4 separate regions of the Homo sapiens genome follow, and regions 1, 2 and 3 are each linked to region 4. Evidence: promoter capture Hi-C in 16 types of primary human blood cells and fetal thymus (Javierre and others, 2016). All regions are on one chromosome and are shown on one strand. The core of a region is centred on a gene start or on the middle of the fragment in contact, and the rest is flanking DNA. Distances in the headings are between cores, read along the strand shown.

Evidence for each region. The method cuts DNA at HindIII sites, captures the fragments that hold promoters and counts their contacts. A CHiCAGO score of 5 or more calls a contact.
Region 1: a contact is called between a fragment that was not itself captured here and the fragment with the promoter of KRTAP3-1 in region 4, in 1 of 17 cell types (endothelial precursors). The highest score is 6.1, in endothelial precursors.
Region 2: a fragment that was not itself captured here is called in contact with the fragment with the promoter of KRTAP3-1 in region 4 in 4 of 17 cell types (endothelial precursors, total CD8 T cells, megakaryocytes and 1 more); the score reaches 8.2 in endothelial precursors.
Region 3: a fragment that was not itself captured here is called in contact with the fragment with the promoter of KRTAP3-1 in region 4 in 2 of 17 cell types (endothelial precursors and naive B cells); the score reaches 6.8 in endothelial precursors.

What each region holds. Positions count from the first base shown.
Region 1 is chr17:41,167,717-41,170,962 of GRCh38, reverse strand. KRTAP4-3 (keratin associated protein 4-3) reads left to right here and starts at 2,742. Exons shown (of 1, transcript NM_033187.2): 1 at 2,742-3,246. The coding sequence starts at 2,791. The HindIII fragment of the contact is 1,788 bases long and covers 436-2,223 here.
Region 2 is chr17:41,210,738-41,213,594 of GRCh38, reverse strand. It overlaps the pseudogene KRTAP9-12P. Among named protein-coding and RNA genes, the nearest start is that of KRTAP9-2, 14 kb to the left of the region's middle. The HindIII fragment of the contact is 303 bases long and covers 1,442-1,744 here.
Region 3 is chr17:41,231,219-41,234,304 of GRCh38, reverse strand. It overlaps KRTAP9-3 (keratin associated protein 9-3), which reads right to left and starts at 1,856. Exons shown (of 1, transcript NM_031962.3): 1 at 851-1,856. The coding sequence starts at 1,803. The coding sequence ends at 1,324. The HindIII fragment of the contact is 5,484 bases long and covers 1-3,086 here.
Region 4 is chr17:41,007,430-41,010,427 of GRCh38, reverse strand. It overlaps KRTAP3-1 (keratin associated protein 3-1), which reads left to right and starts at 1,300. Exons shown (of 1, transcript NM_031958.2): 1 at 1,300-1,907. The coding sequence starts at 1,354. The coding sequence ends at 1,650. The HindIII fragment of the contact is 1,175 bases long and covers 938-2,112 here.

The sequences.
Region 1 (3,246 bases), core at 80-2,579, 160 kb before region 4:
AAGGACAGTTTAGATAGACTTGGCGTAACTTGTGTGTGTGGTCCTCAAGTTAATATCAAGTATGCTTCACCAGACAGTGAGTAGAATTTAGCAGCAAATACATACAGTGACAGACATCTCGCCTGCTTTTGAGGCTCATTTTGTAAAAATCCAGTGTGCTGTCTATACGAATTTCCCATGGTGGTTCATGCCCTGTTGTTCCATTATCATCCATGTGGACTGTCAGTTTTGGTATTAGAGTCATCTAAAATAGCAAAGATAATTATCAGTGTTTTAGTTTACAATACTCCAAATTCAGTGTTTAAAATCCAGTATCATTTTCTCTACTACGTAGATACTACCAATTGTATTTTAATTATTTTAGTTGCTTCTGTTTCCAGTTGAATATTATACAATGTATGTCATACAACAGTTTAAGCAGATGGGTCTCAAGCTTGGCTGCCCTTTACCTGAGAAACTTGAAAAATTCTGGTGCCCAGGCCATAACCCACAGCACTTAAGTCAGATTTTTTCTGAGCAAGAGTCAGGCATCAGTAGTTTTTAACACTCCCCGAGTGACTCTAATATTCAGCCAACTTGTAGAACCCCTGGATGAGGGGTTGTGATTCTCCATACATTTCCCTACATTCAGAATGTACCTGCCTTTGTAGCTGTGGCAATAGGGTTTTCTTAATCTCCATAAATTTATATAGAAACCTCTCCCCTCATAATCAAAACCTTTTTCTTTTATGTTTTTAATTTTTCCTCAGCCCCTGATATACAGCAAATCAAATGAACAACTGCCTCTTCAGGACACCATGTGGCTTCACAATACAATTGTTTCAATCTTTCATGTTCTCCAGCTTTGCAAACACAGCCCATAAAGTAAAGACTTGTAAATCAAGTGTTTGCTAAACAAGTTAATGTGACAGAAATATTGCAAGGTGTTTGGTCTTTAATGATCTTAATTAAGACATTTAAGGATGCTATCATAGAGTGAACAACCTGTCTCTTTCTTCTTGGGACTTCCTAGTTCTAGCAATGAGAGCCCTGAGTTCAGGGAATGCCCTCAGACTGGGCAATCAGAAACAGCTGGTCACCCTACCATGACATTGGTTGGTATAGTTAAAATGAAGCCCTGGCAGTTATTAGTATAGCTCTGAATGAACTAGTGATGCATGCATCAACATTGTGACTCTCACAGCCACATATCAAGGCAAAGATGACAGACAGAAAAAACAATTATGCTATATATAATTTGTTTGAATGTTCAAATCAAAACTAACCTATGGTGGAAAAATTATTAGAACATTGCTAATAATTTCCCCATATGGCTGCCTCTATGAAGTGATGAGTTTACTGAAGTGACATTTGGGAACTTTCTAGTATAATGAAAATGTTCTCTGTATTCATCCATTTTCATACTGCATGAAGAAATACCAGAGACTGGGTAATTTATAAAGAAAAGGAGGTTTAATTGTGAGTCTCTAAAAAAGACTTGCAGTTCCACATGGCAGGGGAGGCCTCACAATCATGGCAGAAGGTGAAGGAGGAGCAAAGGCATCTCTTACATGGCAGAAGGCAAAAGAGCATGTGCAGGGGAACTGGTCTTTATAAAACCATCAGATCTCATGAGGCTTATTCACTATTATGAGAACAGCATGGGAAAAATCAGCCCCCTTGATTCAATTACCTCCCACCGGGTCCCTCCCATGACACCACGACACCACGACACCATGACACATGGGGAGTACGGGAGCTACAATTCAAGATGAGATTTGGGTGGGGACACAGCCAAATTACATCATTCTCTATCTTAATAGGTGTGGAGGTTACATGGATGTACCCATTTATAAAAACTCATCAAATAGTACATTTGGGATTTGTTCATTTCAGTGTATGTAAATTTTACAATATCATAAAAATAGACACAAACTAAATTAAAATATTTATTTATGAATTAATCCACCAAATTGTCATGTTTGCTAATTTGTTTTAAGTATGATTCTTTTAATTAAACTATAATGAGCTCCTTTGATGTTACTTTATCACAGTATAATACTGTGTGTGTGTGTGTGTATGTGTGTGTGTGTTCCTTCTAGCAAGCTGTGAACTCCCCTGAAGGAGAATCTACATCAAATTTGTAATCCCAATGGCTGGCAACTTGGGTCTCTCAGATTATCCATTTAATGCCTCTGTTTTATAAGCAAGGCAGGACCTTGAGCCAGGTGCTTCTGTAAAGCTTGAATGAACAGAATAAAGCAGGAGGTGTCTGTGTGTGGCCATTAAACCTTTCCTCATTGCTCAAAAATGACACTCAAAATAGGACATTTTCTTCTTGTCCCAGGCCAGAGGCCACACTGAGTAGAAGGGCTTTCCTCTCCCTTGGTCAATGGAATAAATGAATAATTGGTAATGTAACTGACTAAATCTCATTCTGGTACTGGGTACAGGAAAAGAGAGTGAGAAATGTAATTTCAAATGCAGAGTATCACCTGATAGCCCTGTGTAGAGGAAGAGGAAGATAATTTGGTCTAGAAGATGCCATCAAGGTGAGAATCAAGGAAAAGTAGATGGTATAGATCTTATTACATCTGGACAAGAATATTTTCTTCCCAATGATTTTAAGCCATTAAATGGACAAACATTATTGTGTAATCTGATAATTATTTAGCAATTAAATAAACAAAAACAAGAAAAATATAGTGACAACAGGAAACTGGGGCAGTATATAAGAGGCTCAAGGAGACTTCTAAACTCCAGAACCTCATTCTCCTGGGAACCCACCCAGAACCTCCACCCTCTGACGCCATGGTCAGCTCCTGCTGTGGCTCTGTCTGCTCTGACCAGAGCTGTGGTCAAGGTCTCGGCCAGGAGAGCTGCTGCCGCCCCAGCTGCTGCCAGACCACCTGCTGCAGGACCACCTGCTGCCGCCCCAGCTGCTGCATTTCCAGTTGCTGCAGGCCTTCCTGCTGTATCTCCAGCTGCTGCAAACCCAGCTGCTGCAGGACCACCTGCTGCCGCCCCAGCTGCTGCATTTCCAGTTGCTGCAGGCCTTCCTGCTGTATCTCCAGCTGCTGCAAACCCAGCTGCTGCAGGACCACCTGCTGCCGCCCCAGCTGCTGCATTTCTAGTTGCTGCAGGCCTTCCTGCTGTATCTCTAGCTGTTGCAAACCCAGCTGCTGCCAGACCACCTGCTGCCGCCCCAGCTGCTGTATCTCCAGCTGCTACAGGCCCCAGTGCTGCCAGCCCTCCTGCTGCCGCCCG
Region 2 (2,857 bases), core at 344-2,843, 200 kb before region 4:
GGGTGGATCATCTGAGGTCAGGTGTTTGAGACCAGCCTGACCAACATGGAGAAACCCCATCTCTACGAAAAATACAAAATTAGCTGGGCATGATGGCGTATGCCTGTAATCTCAGCTACTCGGGAGGCTGAGGCAGGGGAATGGCTGGAACCCAGGAGGTGGAGGTTGCGGTGAGCTAAGATCATGCCATTGCACTCCAGCCTGGGCAACAAGAGCGAAACTGGGTCTCAAAAAAAAAAAAAAAAAAAAAAAGAATAAATGGATACCTGGCTGGTCTGATGATGGAAGTTTATTCTATGCAGGTAGTAATCTGTGGTAAGTTGATCAATAACTGCAAGGCTGGCAGCCCCTAGACACACAACAGGCTGATTGGCAGCAGGGCTAGCAGCAGCTGGATCCATAGCTCTGGTTTAGGCAACCTGTCAGGCAGACACACATGGGGTGGTAGCAAGTTCTCCTGTAGTAGATGGGTGCACAGAAGCTGGGCTGGCAGCAGCTGGACCCACTGCCAGTTTGGCCGTAACAGCTGGACCCACAGCAGGTGGGCTGGCAGCAGGGTGTGCTGCAGCAGGAAGACTGGCAGCAGCTTGTCACACAGGTGTACTGGCAGCAAGTGGTCCTGCAGCAGGTGGCCTCACAGTAGGCTGGGCAGCAGGCAGCAGGGCTGGCAGCAGCTGGATCCACATATCTGGTCTAGGCAACTAGGCAGGCAGACACACATGGAATGGTAGCACGTTCTCTGGTAGACGGGTGCACAGCAGCTAGGTTGGCAGCAGGATGTGTTGCAGCAACTGGGGGGGTGGCAACAAGACTGGCAGCAGCTGGACACACAGCAGGTGGTCCTGCAGCACGTCGTAGGCTGGCAGCAAGGGGAGCAGCAGTGGGTCATGGCGTCAGGGGTGGAGGGTGCACTCCTGTTCAGAGGTGAGTTTCCTAGAGTTTGATAACGTTATTCAATCTGAACCTTTTATACATGGTACCCCAAAGTTTTGATTAATGAGCAGAACTTGTCTTTGATACTTCTCTAGTCTTTTGGGAAATGTCCCAAGGAGGAAGTTGTCTATTCAGTGCTGTGAATTTTCTTTGAGTAATTGATTTATTTGCTTTCTTAATTGACAAATAACCAGTCAGGACTATTTTCCTGAACTGAGAAATGAATCATTCTCCCTACCAATTAAGCACTGATCCTCATTTTTAAAGCTGAGTACAGTATTTGGTCATCTAACAGGTCCTATGTAGCTTAGTGAGATGTCAGGACAATTGTTAGTCACCATCTGTTTTTCCTTATTGCTATTTACTTTGGAAAGTACCTCTGAAGATAGGATGATGTTGAGTCATGGTGATGAGTTAAAAACCAAGTTTAGGGAGGGCTTGTGATGCCACCTGTAATGTAGAAGCTAGTATAAGATTTATCCTCCTGCTATAAACAATAATAAAAGCTTTGTAAATATATAAAACAACTGTTTGCAGATATTGGATGACAATCAGCTTTGGGTTATGATCCTTGAAGGAAGACACATGGGGTAAAAAAAGAAACACATGGGTTTGTATGTTTTCAAAATTGCTGCTGCAGCACATCCTGCTGCCAGTCCACCTGCTGCAGCAGCTGCAGCTGTTATGGCCAAATGCCAGAAGAAATAGAGTCCACATAGAGAGCAGAGGAGAGATAGGCGTTAAAGGGGTTTATCACAATTCCTTCTCTCAGTCTGAAATGTGATTTTTGATGGTTAAGTTTTCTAAAGCTTTATCCAGTTAAAATTATCAGTCATTTCTTTTCGAATAATAATATTTTTGTCTTGGTCAGGAGGTATTTATCTACCTAAAAATAAAAAAAATCACATAAATCATCTAGTGAGGATTTAAGATTTTTTTTGACCTTCAAGATATTGATACACCTGGAATTGATTTTTTTCCTACATGATGAGTGATCAGAATCCAAGTTCATCTTTTCCATGTAAATACTTTTCCATGTAAATACTGGAAACAGGTTTGATTATGATTCCTTTGATTATGGAACATTTTCAGCTTTATTGCTGGATATGTTCTCATTTTCATCCAGAATATTATTTATTTGTGTCTTCTTTACATTTCTTGATCAATCTTTTCAATGGCTTATCATTTATTGGTATTTTTTTTGAAAAAGAAATTTTGGCTTTGTTCATCTTCTCTGTGATGTCGTTTTTAACTAGTTCATTGATTTACATTTTATGCTATTTTGGTTGTTTTCCTTTTTCTTATTCACTTAGGTGAACACTTAGTTCATTTATTTTTAGGTTTTATTCTTGTTTAATATTTAAATATTAAAGGCTATTTAAAGTGTGTACATTTTATCAAAGATCATTTTATAACACCCCACAAGTCTTGATATGTAATATTTTCATTATAATTGAGTTACACATTTTTTCCTTAACATTAGAGATTCTTCCATTTTGGTCTTCCAAGTCAGTATATCTTCTGCAGCTTATCTCACTTATTGTGTACTTTAATGACTATATGCTCTATTATTAATTTAGTATCAGATATTATGCCTGCTTGTGTCTCCTACCCCATTATACATGTTTGTTTTTATTAATTTTTCATTTTGAAATAATTTCATACTCATAGAAAATTGTAAACACAGTACAAAGGATTCCCATATGCCTTCACTTGGATTCCTCAAATGTTAACATTTTACCATGCTTCTTTAACATTATTTCTATACATATATGTGTTACTACTGTTGGTTTTTAAAAGTAAGTTGCAGATAGAATTTCCCTTTATCACTAAATACCACTTTATCCCTATGTACTTCAGTGTGTGTTTCTTGTCACAGCCCAATGATCAAAACCAAAATGTTAATGCCGTTGCAGGATAGTCT
Region 3 (3,086 bases), core at 474-2,973, 220 kb before region 4:
GAAAAAGAAGTTTTTCATTTCTTTAGATTCTTCATATTGGCCTCACAAAATGTGGAAGGTTGTTTTTATTCCCTTCCTTAGCTCAGAGATTATGGGTTGTGCCAAGTCTTACATGCCCATTGCATAGTTTCTCAATTCCCAGCTTTGTTCTTACATAATTTTACTCATAACACTTCAAGTAGGGGACAAATTGTCTTAACGTGGCATAACGTATGGTCTGTATTTTACAATGAATAACTTAGTTTCATTTACTTTGTCAATTGGTATTCAGGAGACCGATGCTGTATAAGAATTTTATTTACATCACACTGAGAATAAGTTTCTTCAGATGAGGCTCCGTCTCCTGAGTCCACAATAAATTCTCAAGCATTTTTTGATGCAGATGAATTGAATGAATGGCTGGTCAGAGGCTCAGACAAAAAGATCTCTGCATTCAGGGCAGCCATTAAATGCATATCATGCAGCCTTTGCTCACTGAGGTGTGGGGAACTACTTTGGGATTTTTTTGTGTGTGAACAAAAGTGTTATCTGCAAATATGTCAGATTATTCCTCTCATTGTTAAATAAACTCAAGTACATGTCTTGCTAGTGCTGACTTCCAGTGTCTTTTCTACTATATTGGGAGTTAAACGTAAGTGTCCTTGGGCAGAAAGAGAGGACCTCACCTTTGACCAGAGTCTGCCCTTTACTAGCTACATAACATCACACATTAAATTGTTCTCAGCTGAAAAAATGGAGTTAATAATACACGACCATCTGTTTTGAGAATCAAATTGGATAATACCTATGGTATGTGATATGTGTGTAAATCCCATATCAGGAATGCTTTCAAATAAAACAAAACACTATATGAGATGAAGATGGTTCAGAGTTTATTCAGAAACATATAGGTAAGAATCTCTGCTACCAGAGACATAACCCAAAGTTATCGTGAAAAGAAGAAAGAAGGATACAAGAACCATGAGAAGGATATTTAAAATGAAAATATAATTGCAAAGATGATTGATCAGTTGCAGAAACCTAAATTCCTTAGAAGCAAAGAATGAAGCTCTTGATTTTTGAGACAAAGCTGAGATCATGACTCCAAATTAAGAACAGACGAAGCTGGCACATGATCCACAAGGTGTAAGGAAAGAGGGAATGAGGATGAAGTATTCTGCCCTCCCTCAAGCAGATTCCCAAGATTTTAAACATGTAGAGAATTCATAAAAATTTGGGTGAGAGCATGGTGGCTGTCAGCAGCAAAGTAAATTAGTCCCTCAAAAGACAAGTCAGTTGAGCTGAAGGTTGTTGTGTGAGGATGGTAGTTCTCTTGGGAGTTGATTAGCAGCAAGAAGGCTGGCAGCAGCTGTACACACAGGTGGGCTGGAAACAAGTGGTCCTGCAGCAGGTGGTCTCACAGCAGGCTGGGCGGCAGCAGGGCTGGCAGCAGTTGGAGCCACAGCTCTGGTTTAGGCAACCAGGCAGACAAACACTTGTGGGGTGGTAGCAGGTTCTTCTGCAGTACACAGGTGCACAGGAGCTGCTCTGACCACAGCTGGACCCACAGCATGTGGGCTGGCAGCAGGGTGTGCTACAGCAGGAAGGCTGGCAGCAGCTGGTCACACAGATGGGCTGGCAGCAGGTGGTCCTACAGCAGGTGTTTTGACAGCAAGTTGGGTGGCAGCAAGGCTGGCAGCAGCTGGAAACACAGCAGGAGGGCTGACAGCAGGGTGTGCTGCTGCAGGTGGTCACAGTGGTGGGCTGCCAGCAGGTGGTCCTGCAGCAGGTAGGCTGACAGCAAGGGGAGCAACAGTGGGTCATGGTGTCAGGGATGGAGGGTGGGCTTCTGTTAAGAGGTGAGTTTCCCAAAATCTGATGACCCCTTGCAATCTGGACCTTTTATACACCTGGCCTCCAAAGTTTCCACCAATCAGCAGGACTTTTCCTTGTTGCTGTTTACATTGTTTTCCACAGTCCATTTGGGATTGTCAAAGGGGAAGTTGTTACTGAAATCTTATGAACCTTTTAAACTAAGGGTTTAATCTGTTTCTTAATTGTGAGTTACTCATAGAAAGTTTGTTTCAGATAAAAGGAAGCCCGTCTCATCATCAGCATCATTCCTGCTCTGACCATCATCTGGTCATGTGACAGTTCCTGTTGATCCGGGGGGCTCAGGAAGTTCTCTCTGGCCAGCCTCATGTTTGGCTGTATATAGACTTGGAAGTGTCTGTGGGGAGAAGCATGATGCTGATATATTTACAGTGACAAAATGAATCCATGCCTGGGCCCAAGACTATTCACCCACCAAATTCTGACTCAAGACTAACAGGCATCTCTTTGTGCCACCCACATCATCTGTGTCTTTCAGTTCTTTGAATGTCACTTGGGAAGACGGTGACTGCACAGTGTGTTCCATGCGACAGAGCAGATCGAGAACAGGTGGATGCAGAGAAATCTGCTGAGATTTAGACAGCATCAAGCAATGTATGCCCTAGGACGACCATTCATTCTGACTTGTCTGGGAGTGTGGGGATTTCCGGGATGAGAATGGAGGACTTTCTATCACGTAACTTCTTGAGATTCAGGCCAACCAGCATGTGCTCTGGCTCTAGCCCTAAACCTAGTTACTAGCAGTAACTAGAAGTAAGCGTTGAAATTCAGGCCAACCAGCATGTGCTGTGGCTCTAGCCCTAAACCTAGTTACTAGCAGTAACTAGAAGAAGAAGTAAGTAGAAGTAATTTCTTCTATTTCTTTTCAATGAAGGGATTAGATGAGTTGAGATGACACCTGATTCATCGTGGAGTTCTAACATGTTGAAAACATTGTCTAGGTATATCATTCACTTGAGAAGAATGCAAATTATTAATTTCCAACCTGATATAGTATTACATTGTAAATACATCTATGTCCCCATTACCAGGTTAGGAAATAGAAATTAATGCCATTCTCTCCCAATTATATCCGCTTACTCATTTCCAAACAGCTAATCACTCTATCAAGTTATAATCCAGTAGATGACTTTGGCTTTTTAAAATTTCCATGTGAATAAAAATTATAGTATTTGCTTCTCTGTTTCTTTGTTATAATCAAAAGGAATCGTTAT
Region 4 (2,998 bases), core at 51-2,550:
GTTTTAGTGGTTTAGATGAAACTCGGAAATGTCTCTATTCTGGACCACAGAGCCTGGAAGTAAGACAGGGGTGTTCAATGTTTTGGCTTCCCTGGGCCACATTGAAAGAAGAATTGTCTTGGGCCACACATAAAATACACTAACACTAATGACAGCTGATGAGCAAAAAAAGAAAAAAAATCACAAAAAAATCTCATAATGTTTTAAGAAAGTTTATGAATTTGTGTTGTGCTGCATTCAATGCCTTTCTGGGCCACAGGTTGAACAAGCTTGCTGTAAGATGTTGCTAAATCTCCCCAAGTATGTTTCATAAAGCACTGACCTATAGAGCTAATCTCTGAAAACAAACAAAAAGCAGTCCATGGTCAAGTAAGTTTGGAGAAAAATATATGCTATATCTCTGTATTGAAAAGTCATAGAGCATTTTAGCACATTAAAGGCTCCGAGAGGCCCAACAATGAAGAATTCAGCATTTCCCAAACTTACTTACCAGAAAACACTTTCAAGTCCCTTGGAACCAGTGTTCATGGAACTCAGTCTGGTAAATACTGCATCATTTAGCTTCTGAATGGCCCAATACAACCAGCCTTTTGGTTATAAATAATCTCCATTTATAACACAGTTGGATGGAGCTTAAAGGACACCCATCTTTGTCACCCATGAAGGTCTTCATTCCCACCTGCATGTTCTTACCAAGTTATTGTTCAGAGCATATTTGAAAGGAATGCAGAACAAACGATTTGTTATAGCTCTGTTTGAAAGTGCCTCTTTACACAAAACCAAAATCTATTTCTCTATAGATTCTATCCATTCATCTTCATTCAGTTTATTGGAGCCACAAATAATAAATCTAAAATGTTATATCACTTTTTCAGCCTGAGGGCCTAAAGGATCACATAGAACCTGTAGTCACTGGTAGAACAGCAAACAAAAAGCTTACTTGTCCTCTTCATCTGAAAAGTAAACAAAAGAAGTGGGAAACGTTTGCAGATGCCTGGCATACCGAGCCATTATTAGTGAGGGTATAATGATTAGAAGATAATGGCCCGGTACCTTTGAAGACTGGAATGAAGATTTCTGTGTAGTGACACACTGGCAATGTGAATAGTCCTAATTTGACAACAAAACAACCTAAATCTCTTTTATGAGGTGAGCAGTGTATCTTAGGTAATAAACACTTAAGTAATTAGGCATTTTTTATGGAAATAACTATAAACTGAAACATGGGGGAAAAACCCTCAGTAATAGGCTGACGCCCAGGGAGATGGGTATATAAGAGCCAGAGCAGAAGAGAGGAGCATCGAGACACCAACAGACTTCTCTCAACTCAACAAAAACCCACCTCCCATTGCCATGTATTGCTGTGCTCTCCGCTCCTGCAGCGTCCCCACCGGCCCTGCCACCACCTTCTGCTCATTTGATAAAAGCTGCCGCTGTGGAGTCTGCCTACCCAGCACCTGCCCACATGAGATCAGCCTCCTTCAGCCCATCTGCTGTGACACCTGCCCCCCACCCTGCTGCAAGCCTGATACCTATGTGCCAACTTGCTGGCTGCTCAACAACTGTCACCCGACTCCCGGACTGAGTGGGATCAACCTGACCACCTATGTTCAGCCTGGCTGTGAGAGTCCCTGTGAGCCCCGCTGTTAACCAGCCGAGTCTGCACAGGTTCCGTGAGGTGGCTGCCCAATGTCCTCTGCACCATCTGGGCTTCAGCACTCACTACTGCCTACATCAAGGCTAAGGCCATCCCAATCCCCGGGGCCAAGTCTTGATGAATCTTCTTAATTATTTGCACATTTGGGTACCATTGGAGACCTCCCTTCTGTCTTTTAGGCTATTTCATCACTCTTTGAGAAATAACCATTTTGACCATTTGTTAATAAACTTTATTCTGGCTTAGCAAATATGACCTTGTGATTATTTATTTTCATGTCTCCCATTAGGGAAAGTGGAATGCCTACCTAAACCTGAACAGTAGGTTATCACACTATCCAAGATTTACCCCAACAGAATAAGAGCTCTCATAGTGGAATTTATCGAAAAAATAGATACTGGTTATTTGTGATAAGTTAAAAAGTAAAAAATGTGGTAGTTCATTTTATAGAAGCTTTTTATTTAACAGATATTTATTTAATAGATATTATTGGAAGACATCCACTGTGCAAGCACTATGCTAGAGTCTAGAGATTAACAGAATGTTTTAAAAATACTTGATTTTAGTTTCCATTGATTCTGACATTGATTTTTCTTTCTTCCTTAATTGACTAAATGAATTGATCACTGTGCTGGTGTGTATAAATAATTTGATTATCCTAGTCCTCACAGTCATCTGAAATTCTGAGCTCAAAATGCAAAGCAATTTTGAGAAGTGTATATATCCATTTCTTCATATATGCTGTCTTCCAAAACAATCCATTTTTAATTAATGTTAGCATTTATCGAGTATTCATTGATTCCTCAAATGGGGCTTACATTGGTTTACATTAGTCATGACTATGATTAGAAGTTTGCTAGTCTAAGTGACATATAATATCATGACATTGAAATATGCTTAAAATATCAGACTACAGTGTAGTATTTTCTATACACCAGAAATAGTCACACAATTCTGAGAGCAAAAACACACAGTTTCTATTAGAACAAAACTACTACGATAACCACTAATTCATGTCCTTATTTATCTTAGAAAAATCTAGGTGCAATTAGGTCTTTGCAAAAAATAAAGGTATTGTGATTATATATATATATATATATATACACACACACACACTTTTGGACTTGCCTTTGGCCTTTGGGCCAATTGCTTCCCTCTCAGTCTCAATTTCCCTGTTATTAAAGTGATTTCCTACCTATAGCGTGGTTTCCTACCTATAGCTTGGTTTCCTACAGGCTCAGTTAGCTTGTTATTACTCTCTGCCCTGCTTTTGTCTCAGGATTATTGTGAGGACCAGATGCCCTGAAGTGTAGAAACCACCGTGTCCACAGCATCAACCTG